Regions from separate parts of the Homo sapiens genome. Here region 2 is linked to region 1. The links are contacts of gene promoters, found by promoter capture Hi-C in blood cells and fetal thymus (Javierre and others, 2016). All regions are on one chromosome and are shown on one strand. The core of a region is centred on a gene start or on the middle of the fragment in contact, and the rest is flanking DNA. Distances in the headings are between cores, read along the strand shown. Region 1 holds the start of UBE2Q1-AS1 (UBE2Q1 antisense RNA 1). Region 2 overlaps IL6R (interleukin 6 receptor).

Region 1 (5,195 bases), core at 796-3,295:
GGCAATCAGCTGTGTCTATAGGAGGGCCCTTGCCCTTTGCCCCCAGCACTGCCACCACCTGTCTGTCTAGGTCAGTGGGTGCAGACCCAGCCCAGCAGAATGAAAGGGCCACATCATGTCTATCACCCAGCCCGTAGGGGTGTGTGCTGTAAAGCTCAGACAATCCCCGCCCAGGCCGGCCTGGCCAAGGAGGAGAGACAGGCTCACCTGTTTGGTGAGAAGTTCCATGCAGATGGCCCCTCCGCCCAGAACATACCTGCATGAGAAAGGTTAGTCAGCTGTGCCTGACAAAATCTCCAAGTCTCTTCCCCGCCCTCTGCCAGAGGAGATGCCCTCTTCCGCATGCCAGCCACTCACCCTCCAGAGAGGACTGGAGACACAACCCTGACAAATGGTGGGTCAAAGGGAAAGTTATCCTGAGAGAGAGAGAGACGACAATCAGGGGAGGGAGGCCAGCATCCTCCACAGGACTGTCAGGCAGACTGGGCAGCCTAGGCCAGAGGGAGAGACTGGAAAAGAAAAGTCTTACTTTAAAGGAAAAGTTAAGTAGAATGAAGTCGGCTCCTTCTTTCTCTTTGAGGATCTGGAGATCGTTGTGCAAAGCGCTGTCCTGGTCAACTCTAAGAAGCAACAAGCCTGGGCTCAGATGCCTGGTTCCACCTCAGGAGCTTCATAAGGGCTCCCCTGCCCTGGCTGGCAGCAGACCACGAAACCACTGCCCACACCCGCTCCGGGACCCTGAATGAAAATGCTGGATGGGGCTGCCCTGGAGATCCCACCACAGTAGCCCCACTCACACTCCTCCTCAACTTCCTCTCCAATCCCAGAGTCCCCACTCACTTGAGGAGTTTGACATTCCAATCATACAGACTGTCATTCACGAGTTCGACTGCATAGTTTCCTGGAAGGAGGGAAAAAACAGGTGTTAGTAGAATGGTCCAGGTGGTGAGTGGTCTCTAATGCAGACCCCTTTCCCAGACTGAGAGAAAAAGATCAACAGCTCTAGGTTCACCACAGATGGACATGCAACCAAGCCACTGGCTTGAGGAGCTCCATTCTTGGCCTGAAAAGTTCATAAGCACTCCTGGACCCCAGAACCTCTTGGGCCCCTTGCCACCATACCCTTCTTTATGGGTGACTCTTGTGCAGGCCCCTCTCTGGGGCAAACTCACCGCCTTTGAAACTCTGTGATCGGTATATATCCCTGAGCTCCTTCATCAGCCGGTCAGTGGCCTGCACCGAGCCAGACACTGCACCCTGTGAGGGACGGATGACAGGAACATTCCTTGGTCGTGTGGTTTATAAACACACGTTAGACCTTAGGGGCAGTCTGGCAGCTTGCCCAGGATTTAAGAAAGGATTAGGCACAAAAAAGGAGTCTGCTCTCCATACTGAGATGCGATGGCCTACTACTTCCCAGCCATTTCCCACCAACCCCTTCACCAGCCTCTCTCTAGAAGGCACGTACATTTAAGTAATCTTGCCTCTGGTTCTTTTTAATTTTCTCTAGGATGGCCAAGTTTTCTTTTCCAATGCCATCATCTTCAGATTTCTTGCCCTCAGCTGGCTCTTCCTCTTTCATTTCATAGTGATCTAAGTCTTCTGTGTCCTGGAGGAGGTGTGGGGTGGGAGTGAAAAGAAAAGGAAAAAAACCGACACAGGTTAGAGAATGACCATCACCTTCCCAGTCCCATTTGGCGAAGAGCCAAAAGTTAAAGTGAAGCAGTCCATCTAGCAGTCTTATAAACGCAACGTGCTTTCCATTTTTAGAACAATTTCCAGCCCCATTCCCTCCACAGTCTAAATCTTCAGCTCTCAAGCTACAGCAAGGACTTCGGAAACGAGCAGAGCTGCAGCTGAGATCGAGGCAGGGACTTAGCCCTCTTGTTTCCTGGACTGACCCTGCTCCAACTGTTCCTAAAACTCCCTTGGCAGCAGAAACTCTTCCCTAATTCCTAGCAGAAATGACTTGGGCCTGACCCTGTGACTCAAAGCTCATGTTTCACCAGGTGACTATTGCACCCGGGAGTTCTCAGGGCCCCAAGCCTAAAGGAGAAACCTGAATCATTACATCTCCTCTCCTCGCTACAAATGCAAGGCATGAATCAGGTATGCAGAGGCACGCACTGCCAGATGGAAATGAGAAAGGATGTCCAGAGAGATATATGGAAGAGGTCAAGAACAGAATTAGCCCCTTATTCATCCTGCTCTAAGTGAGCAAGCAACTAGCTCACTGAGCATAGGGAAGGAGGAGAACCTATGTAGGGTTGAGCCCCTCAGCCAGATGTTGGGGGTGTGGCCCAGAGGGCTGTCCACTATCTGGGAGGAGTAAATTTCATGTCGTCAGCCCTTTGCCAGTCTCAAGAACCTTACACGGTTATAGAACCTGGGATATTAATCTAATGCTAGGAAATAAAAGTAATCAGAGTGATCTCCCCATTTCTGGCAGGACATACCTAATTACCACACCAGCAGGTAATGTCTACTGAGTGTTTATTACATGCCAGGTTCTGTCCTAGGTGCCGCAGATACTAGCTCATTTCATTCTTACCACCATCACTCATTATTCTATCATTATCCATTTTATAGATGCGGAAGCTGAGTCTAGTGAGGTCAATTATCATGCCCAAAGTCACAGCTCTTAGCAGAGCTAAGATTCAGTCAAGTTCTGTCTAGCTCTAAAGCTCAAATTCCTAACCATGATTTTATATTCTGTATGTTTTTAGAGAATATATCAGATAGATTGTTTAGCATTTATCATGTATCATCTGAAGCATTTTATATATAACACCTCATTTAATCTCAAGACAACCATATGCAGTAGGTATTATAATCCTACTTTATAGATAAGAAAACTGTAGCTTAGTGAGATTACATAAAATTCCTCAATTAGGATAGCTAGGATGCAAACACAGGTTTGTTGGACTCCAAAGCCATTTGAAATTAACTTACCCAGTATTTGGTTTGAACCGCGCTGCACCTGTCTTCAGTGGTTGGATATGGGTGCCCTGTCTCCTCTACTACACTGGCTATTCCTCCAGGTCAGTAAATCTGTCTTTATTCCTTTGATATTTTTCTCTCTCCAGTTTTAGACTGGAGTTCTGGATATGGGTACCAATGTTGCTGACTGCAAGAGCTTCCAGCCAATGCCACCTCAGGGGGCAAGCCTACCTCAGGCATCTCCTCATCTTCATCTTCTGAAGACACGTCTTCCTGTGTGCACTGCAGCAAGGAAGGGAAAGATGGAGATCAGAGCCCCAGTGGCTTGCTAGAATGCAGCCTCCAACCTACTCCCCTGAGCCCCCAGGTCTGGAAGTTGTGCGCCTGCCTGTAATGCTGCCAGTCTCTCCACCAGCCAGATCTGAGTGGAAGCAACAGCCCAGGGAATGGCTTTGCTACCAGCCCATTATTTTTCGCCTATCACTGCCAAAGAATAAAAGAAAAGCAAAATGGCTGTCTCTGTCACCCACCTCCTAAATCCTAGTTTAATTCTCCTAAGAACCCCTCCTTTACTTGATCTTCTTTAGACTGATATTGCATTCTTGGTTCTCACCAAGGGGCCTGGGTCCCCAGTGGCCACCAACTGTTATTGCTAAGATAATGGTAAAAATTCCCCCGCTCCCTTTCAACATCTGGGATGCTGCCCATGAGAATGAATTTTGATATCAGAGATGAAGCTACCAGTGCCCCATTTAGCAAAAGAAGATTCCCATCTGGAGAAGAACGAGGGTGAGAGTCATAAGACGTGTATGTTTTTGGGAGCCGGTGGGGATGGAGAGAAACTACTGATTTGTCTCAATTATTTACTGAGTACCCTGTGGGGCAACTCTGCACAACAGGGCCCGAGGCTCCTCAGCTGCTCACCTGCTCTGCTGGCAAGGGTTGATCCAGCATCTCCACATCTGGATGCTGAGGGAGGTTATAGAGTTTACACAGGTCGGAGATGATCCTCTTCAGATGCTGCAATAGCTACAGGTAGGGGAGCACAGAGACATCAAATCCTTCCCCACTCCGATCTGGATAAGTGCATGGATGAGCTCTTAGTTTGGGCCCCACACCAATAACTAGTTCTCTAAGCCTTATGGGCCACGTGGCTGTGGGAATGAGTCTCCTGATGGACCAATCCCAGGGCCGATGCAGGGTCTCCCTCTGGCTTCAGTAAGCAACTCCCCCGAGAGGTCATCCCCTAAATGTTTAGCTGTGTACCGTCCACTTTTCAGGATCCCTTTCACAGGATGCCTTTGTGGCATGGGCCTCATAAGAACAAAATGTACCCCTACCCTGTGGCCCCCTCACCAGAGTATTCCCTTTCTTTATGTCCACCAGCCTCTCCAAGACAGCAGCCAAGTTAGGGTCATCAGACTCCACCGACCAGATGGGGGGCACAGCAGGGTATGACTCCTGAAGGGAAAAGAGCAATAAGAGCAATCAAAATGGGTGACTCTGGGAAAAGCCAGATTTTGCCTGTCCTCTTCCCCCCAAGACTTCTAGCCCCTTTGCTTCCCACCCCCACCCCCTACACACACATAAAAGCCCAACTTAGGTCAGCATCTAACCAAGCAGCTTCACAACAAATTCTAAACTGGAAGAAAAACAGTCCCTGGGAAGACCCTTTCCGAGAAGCAGACTGAAACCTTTTCTTTCTTTCCTCGAGAGTACAAACCAGGAAACCTAGCACAGCCAAACTTGGCTAACAGCGAAGGGGGACTCCTCATCTCCTGCACTGCCTATACAAGTTCTAGACTTCAAGTTCTCCCTGGACCCAGAACAGTCCTCCAAGCTTGCTTTTCAAACTCCAGAATCGGCTGAGGAAGGGATCACCTCATCACAATGACACTGAAGTGAAAAAAGCAGAGTTCAGTAGGGAAGAAGTATAAAAACTAGACTGTATCTCCAGAACCCAAGAGTAAAAGGGTACTGGCAAGAATCTACCCACACCACTTCCAGAAGAGCCCCTCAAAGACCAATTCTCCCCACCTCTCCCTTGGGAACCTGCCACCTTCTCAGTCCAGGCGTGGGCTGTAGGGCTCCACATGGCAGGCTGGGAGAAAGAAGCCTACGCTACTGACATTCCCAGCATTCCTGAGCCACGGTGCCAAATGCAGCCTGACCAGACTCCCTCTCTGCCCAAACCAAGGGGGCTAGTTTAGGCCAAGTCTCCTTTATAGCCATGGGGAGTCTGGCTGAGGACCCCC
Region 2 (5,157 bases), core at 927-3,426, 100 kb before region 1:
CAGCCCATGCTGTTCTTTTAAATAACATTGAGATGAACTTTTTTTTTCTGATGCTGAAGCCCCTGAGACAGGACTCCAGGGCCCATGAATCACTAATAATGAGCCTTTCTTCTGTCCGCAGAATCCAGGAGTCCTCCAGCTGAGAACGAGGTGTCCACCCCCATGCAGGTGAGCTCCTGTTCTTGTAAAAGGGTCAGGGCTGCAGCACCTCGTGTTTAGGAGTGTGGGCTGATGCCAGACCGAATTTGGTTTAAATCCAGTTCTGTCACTAGTAGAAATGTGGTCGTGGTGAGTTACCTGTGCTTTTCAAACCTCTGTGAAAGGGAATCATAGAAATTATCTTGTCCCAGGACTGTAAGGAGTGGAGCAGCGCTGGCCTGGCGTGCAGAACTGCTCTGCGTCTAGCAGCTGCTATTTCATCTCTGAGCTTTTTGGACAACGCTAATGGCTTAGCTTGAGATTGGATTCTGTTTATCTGCATCCTTCCCCTGTGGACTCTTGGTGACATAATTTGCTGGAAAGAGGATTACCTCTGAAGCTGCTTAACAAATTCCTTGAGTAATCCAATTTCCTATCCAACTATATCTCCTCCTGTGGCCCTTAATTCCCTAAATGCTAAGCTGGGAGTCATAGCCACTTCTGGAGCTGTGCGGCACAGGGAAGGAGCCTGGGGCTCTTGAACCTTATCTGTGTTCCATGTAGGAACAGCTGCAGGTGAAGCCCATACCCATGGGGCTAGAGTGCTCCCAACACGGGTTCTGGGGAAACTGACACCGACTGAGGACTGGCCACATCCTGCTAAACTGTGAGCCTTGCATTTGCTGTTTCATTGGCTCCTTATGTTAACATTGCAAGGGAGTGCTTGTAAGGGCTTTTTTTTTTTTTTTTTTTTTTTTTTTTTGAGACGGAGTCTCGCTCTGTCGCCCAGGTGGGACTGCGGACTGCAGTGGCGCAATCTTGGCTCACTGCAAGCTCCGTTTCCCGGGTTCACGCCATTCTCCTGCCTCAGCCTCCCGAGTAGCTGGGACTACAGGCGCCCGCGACCGCGCCTGGCTAATTTTTTTTGTATTTTTAGTAGAGACGGGGTTTCACCTTGTTAGCCAGGATGGTCTCGATCTCCTGACCTCATGATCCACCCGCCTCGGCCTCCCAAAGTGCTGGGATTACACGCGTGAGCCACCGCGCCCGGCCTTGTAGGGCTTCTTAACGTGAGTTAAGTCTGAGGCCAGGGCCGGGCACAGGGGCTCACACCTGTAATCCCAGCACTTTGGGAGGCTGAGGCAGGCAGATCACCTGAGGTCAGGAGTTCAAGACCATCCTGACCAACATGGAGAAACCCTTTCTCTACTGAAATACAAAATTAGCTGGGTGTGGTGGCGCATGCCTGTAATCCCAGCTATTTGATAGGCTGAGGCAGGAGAATCGCTTGAACCTGGGAGGCGGAGGTTGCAGTGAGCCGAGATCATGCCATTGCACTCCAGCTTGGGCAACAAGAGTGAAACTCCATTTCACAAAAAAACAAACAAAAAAAAAGAAGTCTGTCCAAGGTGACATAGCTCGTAAGTGGTGGAACCAGCATTCCAGTCATGGTAGTACCTGCATCCTTGCATCGGACCTGTAAGGACAACAGCTGCTTCAGTGTATCCACTGAGCATCTTCTCTGTGCAGCTTTAAGCTTTTGGTGGAGAGGCAGGTGGAAAGAAAGCCCCACCTTTAGCAGGCATGGTGTGGATAGAAAAAATGCAAATAATAGTATTATTGATTTTTCCACTGTTATGAATGAAATGGAGAAAGGAATGCTTTGGGTGGATCAGGGAGGGCTCTGAGGAGGAGGTAACTCCTGAACTGGTTCTGAATGATGGTGCAATCTGCAGAAACAGGCTGATGGTGAGGAATGTCTCTTTTAGGCACTTACTACTAATAAAGACGATGATAATATTCTCTTCAGAGATTCTGCAAATGCGACAAGCCTCCCAGGTAAGGACTGGGTATTTTCATATTCCCAGGGTCCGAGGGACAGAAGATTTGTCTCTGCAGAAAGTCCTTTCTTATTTGGACATGTCGTCAGAGGATCAATCACAGATCAATCGCAGAAATGTTCTGTGTGTGTGTGTGTGTGTGTGTGTGTGTGTGTGTGTGTTGGAGAGAGTCTTGCTCGGTTGCCCAGGCTGGAGTGCCGTGGCATGATCTCGGCTCACCACAACCTCTGTCTCCTGAGTTCAAGCGATTCTCCTGCCTCAGCCTCCCAAGTAGCTGGGATTACAGGCGCATGCCACCATGCCCAGCTAATTTTTGTATTTTTACTAGAGACAGGGTTTCACTATGTTGGCCAGGCTGGTCTTGAACTCCTGACGTTGTGATCCACCCACCTCGGCCTCCCAAAGTGCTGACATTACAGGCATGAGCCACCGTGCCTGGCCAGAAATGTTCTTTTATTACTTTATATGTTGAACTTTGATATTGTTAGCTAAGATATAATGAGGAGACCGTAAGAAAAGTGGGACAAATCACTTCGAGATATTTGAAAAGTGAGATATTTCACAGTTGGCCCACAATACAAATGAATGTGCTGCAAACAAGATTATTGGAGTCTGAAATGGAATACCTGTTGAGGGAAATCTTTATTTTGGGAGCCCTTGATTTCAATGCTTTTGATTCCCTATCCCTGCAAGACCAGGAAAGCTTACCAGTATTTGAATCAAGAAAGATCACAAGTCCTGTGTTTGACTAGGTATATGGGACTTATGGAATCCAGACTCCAGAGGTTCAGTAGTTGAGCAGCTCCCCTGATGACTCTTGGGCTTCGTGAGGCAGTCCTTGCCCTCGTTCCCCATCCCTGGGTGGATTCCTGCCTGCACTGATGCTGGCTGCCTCTGCTACAACAGCCCAGGTACAAAGCCCTACCATGGTGCAGTGCACCTGTGGAGGACCTGCTAAATACCTGGGGCTGAGCTCTGCACAGTTGGGGACTCGGAGAGGATTAGAGCCATCCCTGTTCTCAAGGAGGCTACAGTCCAGGCTCTGACAAAGAGTAAATTGGTAACTGTGACAAAGACCAGCATGTGAGATGGGCCAAAAGGGAGGCACAGATAAAGCAAAGTGGAATTTAGAGATTTGAAAGAGTATATCAAGCTGAGCAGTCACAGAAAGCTCATGGAGGAAGTGCCATTTGAAATGGGCTTTGAATGGTATGGGTGGGATGCAAGAGGTTGGGTGTTCAAAGGTTGCTATGGGCCGGGCGCGGTGGCTTACGCCTGTAATCCCAGCACTTTGGGAGGCCGAGGTAGGAGAATCACCTGAGGTCAGGAGTTCAAGACTAGCCTGGCCAACATGGTGAAACCCCATCTCTACTAAAAATACAAAAATTAGCCAGGCGTGATGGCAGGTGCCTATAATCCCAGCTACTTGGGAGGCTGAGGCAAGAGAATCACTTGAACCTGGGAGGCAGAGGTTGCAGTGAGCTGAGATCGAGCCACTGCACTCTAGCCTGGGCCACAGAGTGAGATTCCATGTCAAAAAAACAAAACAACAACAACAAAAACAAAAGCTGCTATGGAGGAGGGGAACCTCCAGTCCTCTTCGTCCACCCTCACTGATGATTTTTTTTCTTTTTTTTGAGACGGAGTCTCGTCAAGCGATTCTCCTGCCTCAGCCTCCCGAGTAGCTGAGATTACAGGCATGCACCACCACGCCTGGCTAATTTTGTATTTTTAGTAGAAACGGGGTTTCTCCATGTTAGTCAGGCTGGACTCGAACTCCCCACCTCAGGTGATCTGCCTGCCTCGGTCTCCCAAAGTGCTGGGATTACAGGTGTGAGCCACCGCGCCTGGCCAGCATTCTCAAATTTAACATGTCTAAAAGAGAACACCTGACGCCTCCCCACCTATTCAACCCAGATCTGTTCTTCTCCATCTTCCCTATCTCAGTAACTGGTACCGCATTTGCTCAGGTGCGGGGGATCGGGCAGGCTTCCTCCCTACTCCTCATCCTGTGTCCAGTCCCTCAGCAAGCGTTGTCCTTGTGCTTTGAGACGTATCTAGGAATTGACCACTCCTCACCATCTCCAGTGCCAACACCCAGTCCAGCCCCTGCCGCCTCTCATCCAGCAGGGCTTCCTGGGCTGCCAACTGGTCTACCAACTTCTAGTCTTAACCCCCAACCAACTCTTTTCCAACCAGCACTTAGAGTATCCCTTAAAACACAAATCCAAGCTCTCTCTGGCTCAGTACCATCTCCCCCAGAGTAAAAGTCAAAGTCTTGACAAAGTCCCCAGTTTCTACGAGGAGTCCCAGCAAAGCCATGTGGTCCCCTATCTTTAGACGTTGCCTCTCCATTCTCCCTTTCCTCGCTCTGCCCCAGCCACACTGCCCTCCTTGCTCCTCCACACATGCTCTACCTCAGGGCCTTTGCACTTGCTGTGTGCTCTGCCTGGACACGCTTCCTCTGACATTCACTTTGCCAGCTCCTTCCTATTACTCAAGTCTCTGCTCAGATGCACCCTTCTCCGGGAGGCTTTTCCTGATAATTTTTTTAAAAAACATTTGTTTGGCCGGGCGCGGTGGCTCACGCCTGTAATCCCAGCACTTTGGGAGCCGAGGCAGGTGGATCACGAGGTCAGGAGATCAGGACCATCCTGGCTAACACGGTGAAACCCCGTCTCTACTAAAAATACAAAAAATTAGCCGGGTGTGGTGGCGGGTGCCTGTAGTCCCAGCTCCTCGGGAGGCTGAGGCAGGAGAATAGGGTGAACCCGGGAGGCGGAGGTTGCAGTGAGCCGAGACAGCGCCACTGAGCAAGACTCCGTCTCAAAAAAAAAAAAAATTCATTTGTCTGTCTCCCTTGATTGGATGTAAGATCCATTTAGATACATGATAGGCACTCAAAGAATATTTGTTGGATGAAAGAAGGAACAAATATATGGCCAGGCGCCGTGGCTCATGCCTGTAATCCCAGCACTTTGGGAGGCCGAGGTGGGCGGATCACCTAAGGTCAGGAGTTGGAGACCAGCTTGGGCAACATGGCAAAACCTCATCTCTACAAAAAATACAAAAATTAGCCGGGCATGGTGGCATGTGCCTATTGTCCCAGGTACTTGGGAGGCTGAGGTAGGAGAATTGCTTGAACCCGGGAGGCGGAGGCTGCAGTGAGCGGAGATCA

Evidence for each region. Contacts are between HindIII fragments. The CHiCAGO score rates a contact against its expected background, and 5 or more counts as called.
Region 2: a fragment that was not itself captured here is called in contact with the fragment with the promoter of UBE2Q1-AS1 in region 1 in 2 of 17 cell types (endothelial precursors and megakaryocytes); the score reaches 9.4 in endothelial precursors.

The regions. Positions count from the first base shown.
Region 1 is chr1:154,551,564-154,556,758 of GRCh38, forward strand. UBE2Q1-AS1 (UBE2Q1 antisense RNA 1) reads left to right here and starts at 2,046. Exons shown (of 2, transcript NR_046668.1): 1 at 2,046-2,109; 2 at 3,087-3,465. It overlaps UBE2Q1 (ubiquitin conjugating enzyme E2 Q1), which reads right to left. Exons shown (of 13, transcript NM_017582.7): 2 at 4,297-4,401; 3 at 3,865-3,969; 4 at 3,172-3,222; 5 at 1,469-1,609; 6 at 1,173-1,257; 7 at 841-901; 8 at 530-620; 9 at 358-416; 10 at 208-256. The HindIII fragment of the contact is 6,880 bases long and covers 1-4,778 here.
Region 2 is chr1:154,448,004-154,453,160 of GRCh38, forward strand. It overlaps IL6R (interleukin 6 receptor), which reads left to right. Exons shown (of 10, transcript NM_000565.4): 7 at 122-168; 8 at 1,908-1,977. Among named protein-coding and RNA genes, the nearest start is that of IL6R-AS1, 44 kb to the left of the region's middle. The HindIII fragment of the contact is 1,007 bases long and covers 1,674-2,680 here.